3 separate regions of the Homo sapiens genome follow, and regions 1 and 3 are each linked to region 2. Evidence: promoter capture Hi-C in human tissues and cell types (Jung and others, 2019). All regions are on one chromosome and are shown on one strand. Each heading gives the region's core, a stretch centred on a gene start or on the middle of the fragment in contact. The rest is flanking DNA. Distances are from core to core; before and after follow the strand shown.

Evidence for each region. The method cuts DNA at HindIII sites, captures the fragments that hold promoters and counts their contacts. A contact is called where the count stands out against the background at its distance.
Region 1: a contact is called between a fragment that was not itself captured here and the fragment with the promoter of PRELP in region 2, in 2 of the 25 tissues and cell types used here (mesendoderm cells and thymus).
Region 3: a contact is called between a fragment that was not itself captured here and the fragment with the promoter of PRELP in region 2, in 6 of the 25 tissues and cell types used here (H1 embryonic stem cells, adrenal gland, dorsolateral prefrontal cortex and 3 more).

The regions. Positions count from the first base shown.
Region 1 is chr1:203,780,628-203,784,483 of GRCh38, reverse strand. No RefSeq gene overlaps it. Among named protein-coding and RNA genes, the nearest start is that of ZBED6, 13 kb to the left of the region's middle. The HindIII fragment of the contact is 6,600 bases long and covers 1-3,856 here.
Region 2 is chr1:203,474,394-203,478,422 of GRCh38, reverse strand. It overlaps PRELP (proline and arginine rich end leucine rich repeat protein), which reads right to left and starts at 2,617. Exons shown (of 3, transcript NM_002725.4): 1 at 2,485-2,617. The HindIII fragment of the contact is 3,589 bases long and covers 1,404-4,029 here.
Region 3 is chr1:203,745,927-203,749,749 of GRCh38, reverse strand. No RefSeq gene overlaps it. Among named protein-coding and RNA genes, the nearest start is that of LINC00260, 17 kb to the right of the region's middle. The HindIII fragment of the contact is 4,510 bases long and covers 14-3,823 here.

The sequences.
Region 1 (3,856 bases), core at 727-3,226, 310 kb before region 2:
CTGGCTAATTTTTGTATTTTTTCATAGAGATGGGGTTACACCATGTTGCTCAGGCTTTTCTCAAACCCCTGGCCTCAAGTGATCCACCTGCTTTGGCCTCCCAAAGTGCTGGGATTACAGGGGTAAGCTACCATGCCTGGCCCTTTGAAACATTTTCTAAGTCAAAGCAAGCAAGCAAGCAAGCAAGCAAGCAGGAGAGGCTATATTAATATCAGATAAATAGACTTCAGAACAAGGAATATTACCAGCAATAAAGAGGGGCATTAAATAATGACAAAGGAGTCAATTCACCAAGAAGCCATTAGCAATCCTAAATATGCATGCAACTAACAATAGAGCTTCAAAACCCATGAAGGCTTTACGGAGGTAGAACTGAAAGGAAAAACAGAGAAATCCACAATTATATTTGAATCCATCAGCACTCTTCTCTGAGCAATTGATAGAACAAGTAGATGGAACATCAGTAAAGATATAGATGACCTGAACAACAAACACTGTCAACCAGCTTGAGTTCACTGATGTTTTCAAAGCATTTTGCTCAACAGCAGTTGAATACACATTCTTTTCATGTGAAATCCCACAAGAAACTTGGAGAATTATGTCTTGACCTGAGATTGTCAAGAATGGGCTTCCCCCTCTTACAGAGTCAGTTTTCCAGGACACCTGCGGCAAACTCAAACTTTGTCAGAGATTCTCTGCTTCTGAGTACAGCTTACTTATGGACCTAGCATTTATTTAGCCACGTAGAGACCTCCCCTGATGTGTCTGCCTGGTGTCTCTCTGAGCAATGATGGCTTTACGTGGCTGGCTTCTGCTTTGATGTTTGCTATGAGCTCCAGGGAAGAAACATCTTCCTTAAATGAATGCCGTATCTGATACATAATATAAATCAGTTCATCTGCGGTGGCTCATGCCTGTCATCCCAGCACTTTGGAAGGCTGACTTGGGCAAATCACTTGAGGCCAGGAGTTTGAGACCAGCCTGGCCAACATGATGAAACCCCATCTCTACTACAAATACAAAATTAGCTGGGTATGGTGGCAGGCGCCTGTAATCCCAGCTACCTGGGAGGCTGAGATGGGAGAATCGCTTGAACCTGGCAGGCAGAGGTTGCAGTGAGCTGAGATTGTGCCATTGCACTCCAGACTGGGCAACAAGAGCGAGACCTTGTCTCAAAAAAAAAAAAAAGAAAAAAAGAAATTAATTTATCAAGAAACCAGCAAATGTTTCAGGCCCAACAGCCTTTTTTTCCACTTCCTCGTTTCTTCTTTTTCTTGTTTGTTTTTTTTTGAGACGGAGTCTGGCTCTGTCGCCCAGGCTGGAATGCAGTGGTGCAATCTAGGCTCACTGCAACCTCTGCCTCCTGGGTTCAAGCGATTCTCCTGCCTCAGCCTCCCAAGTAGCTGGGACTACAGGTGCGTGCCATCATGCCCAACTAATTTTTTATATTTTTAGTAGAGATGGGGTTTCACTGTGTTTGCCAGGATGGTCTCGATCTCCTGACCTCGTGATCCATCCGCCTCGACCTCCCAAAGTTCTGGGATTACAGGCGTGAGCCACTGTCCCCGGCCCTCGTTTCTCCTTTAGAAACCTAGATTTGTGTGCATGCCTACGTATGCTCATCTTTTTACTTCTCTGAATCTGACCACAGGGCTTCAGATATTATCATGTTCTTCTATCATCAGACATATTAAATTATGTCATTGTAGTAGATAAAATAATGCCCCCCAACAAAGATGTTCACATCCTAATCCCTGAAACCTGTGACTGTGTTACCTTGCATGGTAAAAAGGATTTTGTAAGACCAGGCGCAGTGGCTCATGCCTGTAATCCCAGCACTCTGGAAGGCCTAGGCGGGCGGCTCACCTGAGGTCAGGAGCTCGATACCAGCTTGGCCAACATGGTAAAACTCTGTCTCCACTAAAAATACAAAAATTAGCCGGGCATGGTGGCATGCATCTGTAATCCCAGCTACTTAGGAGGCTGAGGCAGGAGAATTGCTTGAACCTGGGAGGCCTCTTCTAATTACATTGGGCCCACTCTGATATCCAGGATAGTCTCCTCATCTCAAGACCTTTACTCATACCTGCAAAGTCCTCTTTTTTTTTTTGAGGTGGAGTCTCACTCTTGTCGCCCAGGCTGGAGTGCAGTGGTGTGATCTCGGCTTGGGGCACAGCGTGCTGGGGAGAGTGAAGGAAAGAGAGCAGGAGCTCTTTTTGTGAGAAAGGATGTGTTTTCCTCAGTTGGAGTAGAGAGGTGGGACGTCCACATTCCTGAGAAGAGACTCAAATAAGCACATAAGCATGAGGGCAGGGAGGGCAGGCCCGTGGGCCCAGGGCTGGCTACATAATGTGTAGGGCCCAGTGCAAAATGAAAATGTGGAAACACTTGTTCACAAAATAGAAAAAAAATACTGTTGGCTGGGCATGGTGGCTCACGCCTGTAATCCCAGCACTGTGGGAGGCTAAGGCTGGCAGATCACCTGAGGTCAGGCGTTTGAGACCAGCCTGACCAACATGGTGAAACCCCTCCTCTACTAAAAATACAAACATTAGCTGGGCATGGTGGCACATGCCTGTAATCCCAGCTACTCAAGAGGCTGAGGCAGGAGAATAGCTTGAACCCGGGAGGCAGAGGTTGCAGTGAGCCGAGATCGTGCCATTGTACTCCAGTCTCGGTGACAGAGCAAAACTCCTCTCAAAAAAAAAAAAACAAAAAAAAAAACAGGCCGGGCGTGGTGGCTCACGCCTATAATCCCAGCACTTTGGGAGGCAGAGACGGGCGGATTACGAGGTCAGGAGATTGAGACCATCCTAGCTAACACGGTGAAACCCCATCTCTACTAAAAACACAAAAAAATTAGCCGGGCATGGTGGCGGGCACCTGTAGTCCCAGCTACTCGGGAGGCTGAGGCGGAAGAATGGCGTGAACCCGGGAGGCGGAGCTTGCAGTGAGCTGAGATCACGCCACTGCACTCCAGCCTGGGCAACACAGCGAGACTCCGTCTCAAAAAAAAAAAAAAACATACTGTTAAAGGTGCTAAAATATAAAGCTTTCCCCTTTCTTCTAGTCCAAGCTTGTTCAACCCACAGCCTGCAGGCTCCATGCAGCCCAGGATGGCTTTGAAAATAGCCCAACACATATTCAAATTCATAAACTTTCTTAAAACATGAGATTTTTTGGAGATTTTGTTTTTTGTTTTTTGTTTTTTAGCTTATCAGCTATCATTGGTGTTAGCATATTTTATGTGTAGTCCAAGACAATTCTTCTTCTTTCTTTTTTTTTTTTGGTGAGATGGAGATTTACTCTTGTTGCCCAGGCTGGAGTTCAAGGGCGTGATCTTGGCTCACCGCATCCTCCGCCTCCCAGGTTCAAGCGATTCTCCTACCTCAGCCTCCCGAGTAGCTGGGATTACAGGCATGTGTCACCACGCCCGGCTAATTCTGTATTTGTAGTACAGATGAAGTTTCACCGTGTTGCCCAGGCTGATCTCGAACTCCTGACCTCAGGTAATCCTCTCGCCTCGGCCTCCCAAACAGCTGGGATTACAGGCGTGAGCCACTGCGCCCAGTCAATTCTTCTTTCAATGTGGCCCAGGGAAGCTAAAAGATTGGACATCCCTATATGTAGTCTTTCTTTTTTCTTTTCTTTTCTTTTTTTTGTTTGAAACGGAGTCTCGCTCTGTAGCCCAGGCTGGAGTGCAGTGGCGCGATCTCGGGCTCACTGCAAGCTCCGCCTCCCGGGCTCATGCCATTCTCCTGCCTCAGCCTCCCGAGTAGCTGGGACTACAGGTGCCCGCCACCACGCCCGGCTAATTTTTTTTTTTTGTATTTTTAGTAGAGACAGGGTTTCACCG
Region 2 (4,029 bases), core at 1,368-3,867:
AGTTTAGAAGAGAAAGTTTTCCATTCTGAGCGGTGGGGAAGAAACCAGGGTGAGACGACTCTTCTCTGACAGCCCGCCACCTACCATATCCTCTGCCCCATTCCCCCAGCATCTCCAAGCCTTGAAGAAAGCCTAGAAGAGTGTGTCTGATGCCTTGAGTGATTATAGATCTGAGACCCAATCCTGCAGTTCTTCATTCAGATGCTTAGCTAGGTAGGCTTAGGCAAAGCAATTGCTTTTCTGCTCTATAAAATGGGGATACTAACACCTTCTTTTCTGTTTTGAGGGTTAAATGAGTTAATACATGCAAAGTGAGTGTTTTCTGAATGTTAAGGTCTTGTTGATATTATTTCAAAGTAATGGGGTCTCCTTCCCTCCAGCCTGGCTAGAGGGCAGCCCCCATGCACTGCTCGAAGGCAGGGATCCTTGTGAGTGGGGTACCAGCTCTTCCACACAGAGCAACTTCCTCCCCTTTGTGGCTTGTGAGATCACACTTGGGTCTCAGAAACAACTAACTGAGGAGACTCTGGAAGTCCCCAGCCACCTAGGGAAAGCTTGTTCTGTCTTTCTAATTCACCAACTTCTCACCGATGCTTTCTGCAACAGGTGAGGGGACACTGGCCACAGAAGGTGCAAGTCTGCCTTCCTCAGTGGGCCATGGAGTTCCACTGCGATTCTTGACTTCTCCCAGCTTTTTGCCCCTTCCAGCCTTGAAATGCTTCACTCACATGCCCAATAAATGGGATTGCCCACTAGGGAGGTGGAGGGGGCATGAAGAAAGTGTTCAGCTCACCCTCTGTGAGAGCCCAGACAGGTGGCTGCTGGGAAGGAGGAGCAGGGACCTATAAGGGTCAGGGGAAGGGCCCAGCACATGCTCCTGGGGTCCTGGGGCAGGCAGATTAACAGGTGAGGGGAAACAGAAGCTCTGTGGAGCCATCTTGGGGGAACTTTCTTACTGGAATGTTCCTCTGTGGTATATATGGCTGCTTGTGCTTGCAAGGAGGAGAGAGGGAGACAGCTCTTCCCTGTTTACTCCCACTCCCCAAAAAAGAGGTGGCCTATTTGGGACACTCTGGTGCTCCTTTTCCAGGACACAGTCCTTCTGCCCAGCTAACACTGCCGGAGTCTTGGGCTTAAAAATTACAGCAAAGCTCTCTCTCAGGCCCCTGATTCTCGAGCCCTGGTGGACCATCAGAATCTCCTGAAGTATTAAAACAAGATTCCTGGGTCTCGATTCAGTAGATCTGCAGTGAGAGCCGACATCTGTATTTTTAGTAAGCCCTCCACACTCCTCCCTCTCCAGCCCTTAGGTGACTGTGAAGATCAGCTGTGTGTGGGACCCCTGATCTCCCTACACCCCGCCTGCCTTGGGACAGACCCTCTCTATTAATAGAGAGGAATGAGCAGGGGAGCAGGAGAGGGGCCGCCCTTCAGTTTTCCCCTCCCCAACTGCTTAAGGAACTGCTGCCTTTTTTTTTTTTTCTCCTCTGCCACAGGACCTTTTGCCAACCTAAATGGTTGGAATAATTTCAGAACGGCTTTAAAGAAAAATATTTTTCTGGCTGCCTGCAGGAAAAAAAAATAAAAAAATGAACTGTCCCCAGAGCTGGGAATTAGGACCTTCAAGGATTGGGAACTGGGTCGCTTTCTTCTTTCTTTCCAAAAGCCAAGTGGTTTGGACCAGTGAGACAGAAATTGAAAGCTGCTGAGAAGACACTGTGCAGGTTGGAAAAAGCCGTTTTTCTCTCCCTCCTACCCAGTGAAGCCCTAAATAATGAAGAAACCCTTCCAGCTCCCGCTCTTGCTTATCTCCTCCCTATTCGGCCTGGACTTGGGATGCAAGATTTTCTTCTGGCTCTGCCATCTCAGTGGGAAAACGTACTTTATCTTTGCTCTTACAGCTAGGGAGGTGTGTGTGAGAGGGCGAGAGACAAGATGCAGGGAACATGTGTGCATGCATGTGTGTGTGTGTCTGCTGGTGTCTGGTGATGATGTGGTCTAGCTCTGCATGTCAGATGCAGAGGGCAGAGGTGAATGGACAGGATGTCTTCATTTTGTATGGTCGTGTGGGGTGATGGTAGTGAACGTGCAGCCTCCGTGTGATGTGTGTGACTTCCACAATGTGTGACAATACACAAAAGGTGCAAAGAAATGGGTTCTGGAGTCCAGTTTCTATGGAAACACCTGATCTGTAGAAACACTTTGTGCAGCGTGGCTCTCTGTGCTACAACAAACATCTGCAGCAGGAAAGCTTAACTTTTGCAGTAAGCAAATATAGGGGTACAGAGTGATGAAAAGAAAAGGAAGAGGCTATAGGAAAGAAGTTAGGAAGACTAAATTTGAACTCATTTGAGAGGAGAAAGAGGTGGGAGGAAGGAAGGAGTGAGAGGATAGAGACTAGATCAATAAATGGACAGAGCTGGAGGAAACTTACTGGATGAAAGATTCTTCCCAGTCTCCTGCCCATCTCCCAACTGGGCTTACCTGCACACACCTGCCTCTCCTCTCAGCTCTGAGTTTAGTCCTCCTCTTCCACCCCCTCCCTTCGGCGGAGCTGTGGCAGCAGAGAGCCAGCTAGAAGATCTGATCTCCCAGTGGTGTGTGCGTGCTTGTGTTTGCCTGACTTTTCTTCCACCAGATCCTATTGGGGTGGGGAGGTTAGCTTGGGGGGAGGGAGGGGCAGATCATAGGGAGGGAGGGGAGGAGAGGAGGGAGGAGGGAGGGAGGGGAGGGGAGGAGAGAGGGAGGGAGCTTGGGAAAGGAGGAATGACAATAAAGTCTTTATTTGGCAGCCAAAACTCCCAAAGACTTCATCCACACACCATTCCCACTAACAGACTCATTTTTAATAACATTTCCTTCTGCTGCTGCCGCTTCTGGAGAGGGGTTGTTTGACCCATGTTTGGAAAACAAGCCAAATTAACAGAGTGAAAAGGCATGAAAAGCAACCTCTGTGTAAGCCAGGACTGGATGGCTGGGTCCAGCACTAGCCTGTTTAATTCCTCCTAACAATCGCCTTGCCTTCTGGGGCCGTTGCTCGGTAGTGTTAAATTCCTAAACCAGTGAGGGGTTTGGGATGCTTCCTCTGAGCAGTGACAGTCTTTCCCTAAGTTATCTTCTCCAGGAGGTTGCAAAGGGAGTGGAGTCTCAGGCTGGCATAGGAGATAACTTCGGTTTGGCTGCCAGGGCTGTTCTGAGAACCAGAGAGGGAGAAGTCTGGCCTGAGTTGCACAGCAAAGTTAAGGCAGAATTAAGATTTAATGTAAGACCTAAAGTCACTGTTCCTAGCTCATGTGGACAATGTAGTGGCTTCTTTCAGCTTCTCCATATCACACTTAGGTGAGATTTAGGGGCTGTGTGGTCATCACACAAAGTGATGGGAAATCCAAATTTCCCCTGTGCACATCAACACCCCAGAAGACCCAGTCAAGTAACACCACTACCTCTAACAATCCTCTAACAATGCCCCTCAATTAAGAAAGCACAACACACTTGCAGGTAAGTAGATGCCCATCAAAATTTCCTGCCATGGCCAGGCACAGTGGCTCACGCCTGTAATCCCAGTACTGTGGGAGGCAGAGGCAGGCGGATCACCTGAGGTCAGGAGTTTGAGGCCAACCTGGCCAACATGGTGAAACCCTGTCTGTACTAAAAATACAAAAAAATTAGCTGGGTGTGGTGGCGGGCATCTGTAGTCCCAGCTACTAGGGAGGCTGAGGCAGGAGAATTGCTTGAACCTGGGAGGCAAAGCTTGCAGTGAGCCAAGATCGTGCCACTGCACTCCAGCCTGGGCAACAAGAGCGTGACTCTGTCTCAAAAAATAAATAAGTAAATAAAATAAATAAATTCCTGCCATCCCAGCTGACTACTTAGAAAATGCAACGCAATTTTCTTCTCCATTATTGGTTCCATGGAGAGCTGCAGAGCCCCATGACAGGGGACTGCCTGCCTGCCCTCCGCAATATGGGGTAGAGGAGAGAACATTAAAATTAGGGTCTGCAGCCCTGGGCTCAGCCACCCACAAGCTAT
Region 3 (3,823 bases), core at 1,019-3,518, 270 kb before region 2:
GTGTGAGCCACCGTGCCTGGCCCAAAAACGTTTTAAAAATGTGCTATTTTTGTTGAACGCCTGTCGACCCTAAATTATCTCTCAGGAGTTCCTTTCTGATCTTCAAAATGTAATTTGAAAATGATGTACTTTAATGATCTCCTTGTACACATGGGAAATCAAGCTGGTCAAGAAGCAGAGTTGAGGTCAGGGCATGTGTCTCCTGCCTTCCAATCAGCTGCACATCAGAATCTTACTCTAATTTTGCCATTTTAGCTCCTCGATCAAAGAGTAAGCAGAGAAACATTTAAACGCCTTCCTTTCCTACCCGGTCAGCAGCAGCAGCTCAATTCAAAAGGTTTGATAGGAAAGATGTAGGAATTCTCTCTTTTTTTTTTTTTTTCGGAAAGAGAGTCTTGCTGTGTTGCCCAGGCTGGAGTGCAGTGGCATGATCTCGGCTCACTGCAACCTCCACCTCTCACGTTCAAGTGATTCTGCTGCCTCAGCCTCCTGAGTAGTTGGGATTACAGGTGCCTGTCACCACGACTGGCTAAGTTTTTGTATTTTTAGTAGATACAGGGTATTGCCATGTTGCCCAGGCTGGTTTTGAACTCCTGAGCTCAGGCAATCTGCCTGCCTTGGCCTCCCAAAGTGCTGGGATTACAGGCATGAGCCACTGCGCCCAGCAGGAATTTTTTATTTTTATTTTTATTATTTATTTATTTATTTATTTATTGAGACAGGATCTATCTTTGTAACCCAGGCTGGAGTGCAGTTGTGCAATCTCAGCTCACTGCAACCTCCGCCTCCTGGGTTCAAGTGATCCTCTCACCTCAGCCTTCAGAGAAGCTGGGATTACAGGCATGAGCCACCATGCCCAGCTAATTTTTGTAAGTTTAGTAGAGATGAGGTTTCACCATGTTGGCCAGGCTGGTCAGATGCAGGAATTCTTGACTTAAATAAAGGGTTTTGGATGATCATGGATATATTTGTTCTTCTCTTAAGCATGGTTAAAGGCAATCTGTAGGTACCAGTCCAGCTCTTCCCAGCCTTACTCCCTCTTTCAAATGAGTTATCATATATACTTGCTTTAAATAGGTGAAGACATGAAGATCTGGAGTTATAAAACACAAATCAGTCTTTCAATGCAGTCTTCCTGGGTCTAGCATAGCAAGAAAGCTTAAATCAATTGTGCTGTGTTTGGAAAAAGAATGTGCTAAAAGGAGATGGTCTATATGTCCTCTGTTATAGGAGACACCAGAGAAATCAAGTGATGCTTAAGCTTGAACACAGGGCCCAGTTCTATTCTAAAGTAGAGACAGGCCAGGCATGGTGGCTCATGCCTGTAATCCCAACATTTGGGAGGCTGAGGTGGGAGGATAGTTTGGGGCCAGGTGATTGACTCCAGCTTGAACAACATAGTAAGACTCCATCTCTTAAAAAAAATTACAGGCATGGTGGTGCATGCCTGTAGTCTCAGCTACTTGGAAGGCTAAGATGGAAGGATAACTTGAGCCGAGTCTAAGGCTGCAGTAAGCCTTGGTCATGCCACTGCTCTCCAGCCTGGGTGACAGAGCAAGACCCTGTCTCAAAAACAAAAAAAGGAGTAGGGACAGATATATGCCCTGTGAGTGTAATGGCACTAGCCACTCAGACAGTTCTATTATTTCCCCTTTGCGTAGAGTTCATGAGCAGAAGTTAAATTTCTGATTGTAATCTGGCTATCCAAATATGTAGATTATTTCAATTCTTTTTTTTTTTTTTTTTTGAGATGGAGCCTTGCTCTGTCACCTATGTTGGAAGGCTGGAGTGCAGTGGCGTGATCTTGGCTCACTACAACCTCCGCCTCCTGGGTTCAAGGGATTCTTCTGCTTCAGCCTCCCGGGTAGCTGGTATTACAGGTGCACACCACCACGCTCAGCTAATTTTTGTATTTTTAGTAGAGACAGGGTTTCACCATGTTGGCCAGACTGGTCTTGAACTTCTGACCTCAGGTGATCCGCCCACCTCAGCCTCCCAAAGTGCTGGGATTACAGGCATGAACCACTGCCTTCCGAGCTAGCATTCTTGTTTTGCCACCAGCCTTTTAGAAGGCAGCGGGAGGCCATTCTAAAGAGACTGATCTCTGTTTTGTGCATGTCTTCTGAGGACAGGGAGATGATGCTGGGCCAGGAAAGTATTATTTGAAAAGAGTCAGAGAAGTAAAGACTTGTTTATGATTGGTTGTACATCAGGACATAGGCAAGCCCAGAACCCAGAAGCTGCTACCTTTCAAGCTGAAAGCTTTCTGTCTATGAATCTAATAGGTCAGTACCTCTCATGGCTTAGGTTCATGGTGGAGGTAACTGGATGTTAATGATCCTGCACAGAAATGGTAACATGTTTACATGTATTATTTACAACAAAGCTTCACAATTATTTGTTGGTGAAGGACATGCCATTCTCATTCTCCTTCCTGCTTGTAGTGACAAGAAGGCCACGCTTTAACAAACCCAGGTCAGGGGCTGGTAAATATCTCACTGGAACCCAAGGAGTCATCTTCTTTGGATTCACCACAGAGTAGGTCAGGGAGTTGCCTGGTCATGTGTATACTTTGGGGGAACCAGGTGGGCTTGGTAGAGAGCTTCAAACTGATGACCGCAGGGAGACGATATGGACTAGTGGAGAAAGGGGAGACTCACAAACCATTACTGAAGATGGAGGGCAGGCTGGGCGTGGTGGCTTATGCCTGTAATCCCAGCACTTTGCGGGGGCCAAGGCAGGCGGATCACCTGAGGTCAGGAGTTCGAGACCAGCCTGGCTAACATGGTGAAACCCCGTTTCTTCTAAAAATACAAAAAATTAGCCGGGCATGGTGGCGCACGCCTGTAATCCCAGCTACTCGTGAGGCTGAAGCAGGAGAACTGCTTGAACCCTGGAGGCAGAGGTTGTAGTGAGCCGAGATCACACCATTGCACTCCCACTTGGGCAACAAGAGTGAAACTCCATCTCAAAAAAAAAAAAGAAAAAGAAAAGATGGAAGGCAAAGCTATTATTCTTTTCTAGAACTGGGGTAAGGGAAAAGAATGGAAGAACAGAGTATGCTCTTTTCCATACAGTGACCTAGGTCCAAGTTGCTGAGCTGGCCTTTACATTCTCTTGAGCCAACACCTTAGGATATAGTGGTCTCTGCCAGAATGATACGTAGGAGGTTCATTCTTCACCATTCCTTACCATATCCTGGGGTTAAGAGACGTGGATCCTTAAGATCCTCTGTTTGGCATGGCAGAGAGGCACAGATCTATGGTCCAACAAACACAAAGTGGGGGTGAGAGAAGAAATAGAGGGCCAAGCTTTAGAAAGGACCGTATAGGGGTTCATATGTGTTACATCCTTTTCAGCAAGAGTATTTAGGAGGGAAACTACAATGGAAAAAGCAGACTTTCTTTTCTTTCTTTTTTTTTTGAGACGGAGTCTTGCTCTGTTGCAAGGCTGGAGTGCAATGGCGCGATCTCGGCTCACTGTAATCTCTGCCTCCTGGGTTCAAGCAATTCTCCTTCCTCAGCCTCCCGAGTAGCTGGGACTACAGGCGCATGGCACCATGCCCAGATAATTTTTGTATTTTTAGTAGAGATGGGGTTTCACCATGTTGGCCAGGATGGTCTCGATCTCTTGAGTTTGTGATCCACCCACCTCGGCCTCCCAAAGTGCTGAGATTACAGGCGTGAGCCACTGTGCCCAGCCTATTTTCATTTTTGTTTGTTAAGTTCATTATTTATTCTCCATCCCCTATTTTAAAGAAACTAAGTGGGCAATGTGTTCAATGCCTGTGGAGAGCAACCTAGGACAGAAAAGAAAAGTGGGG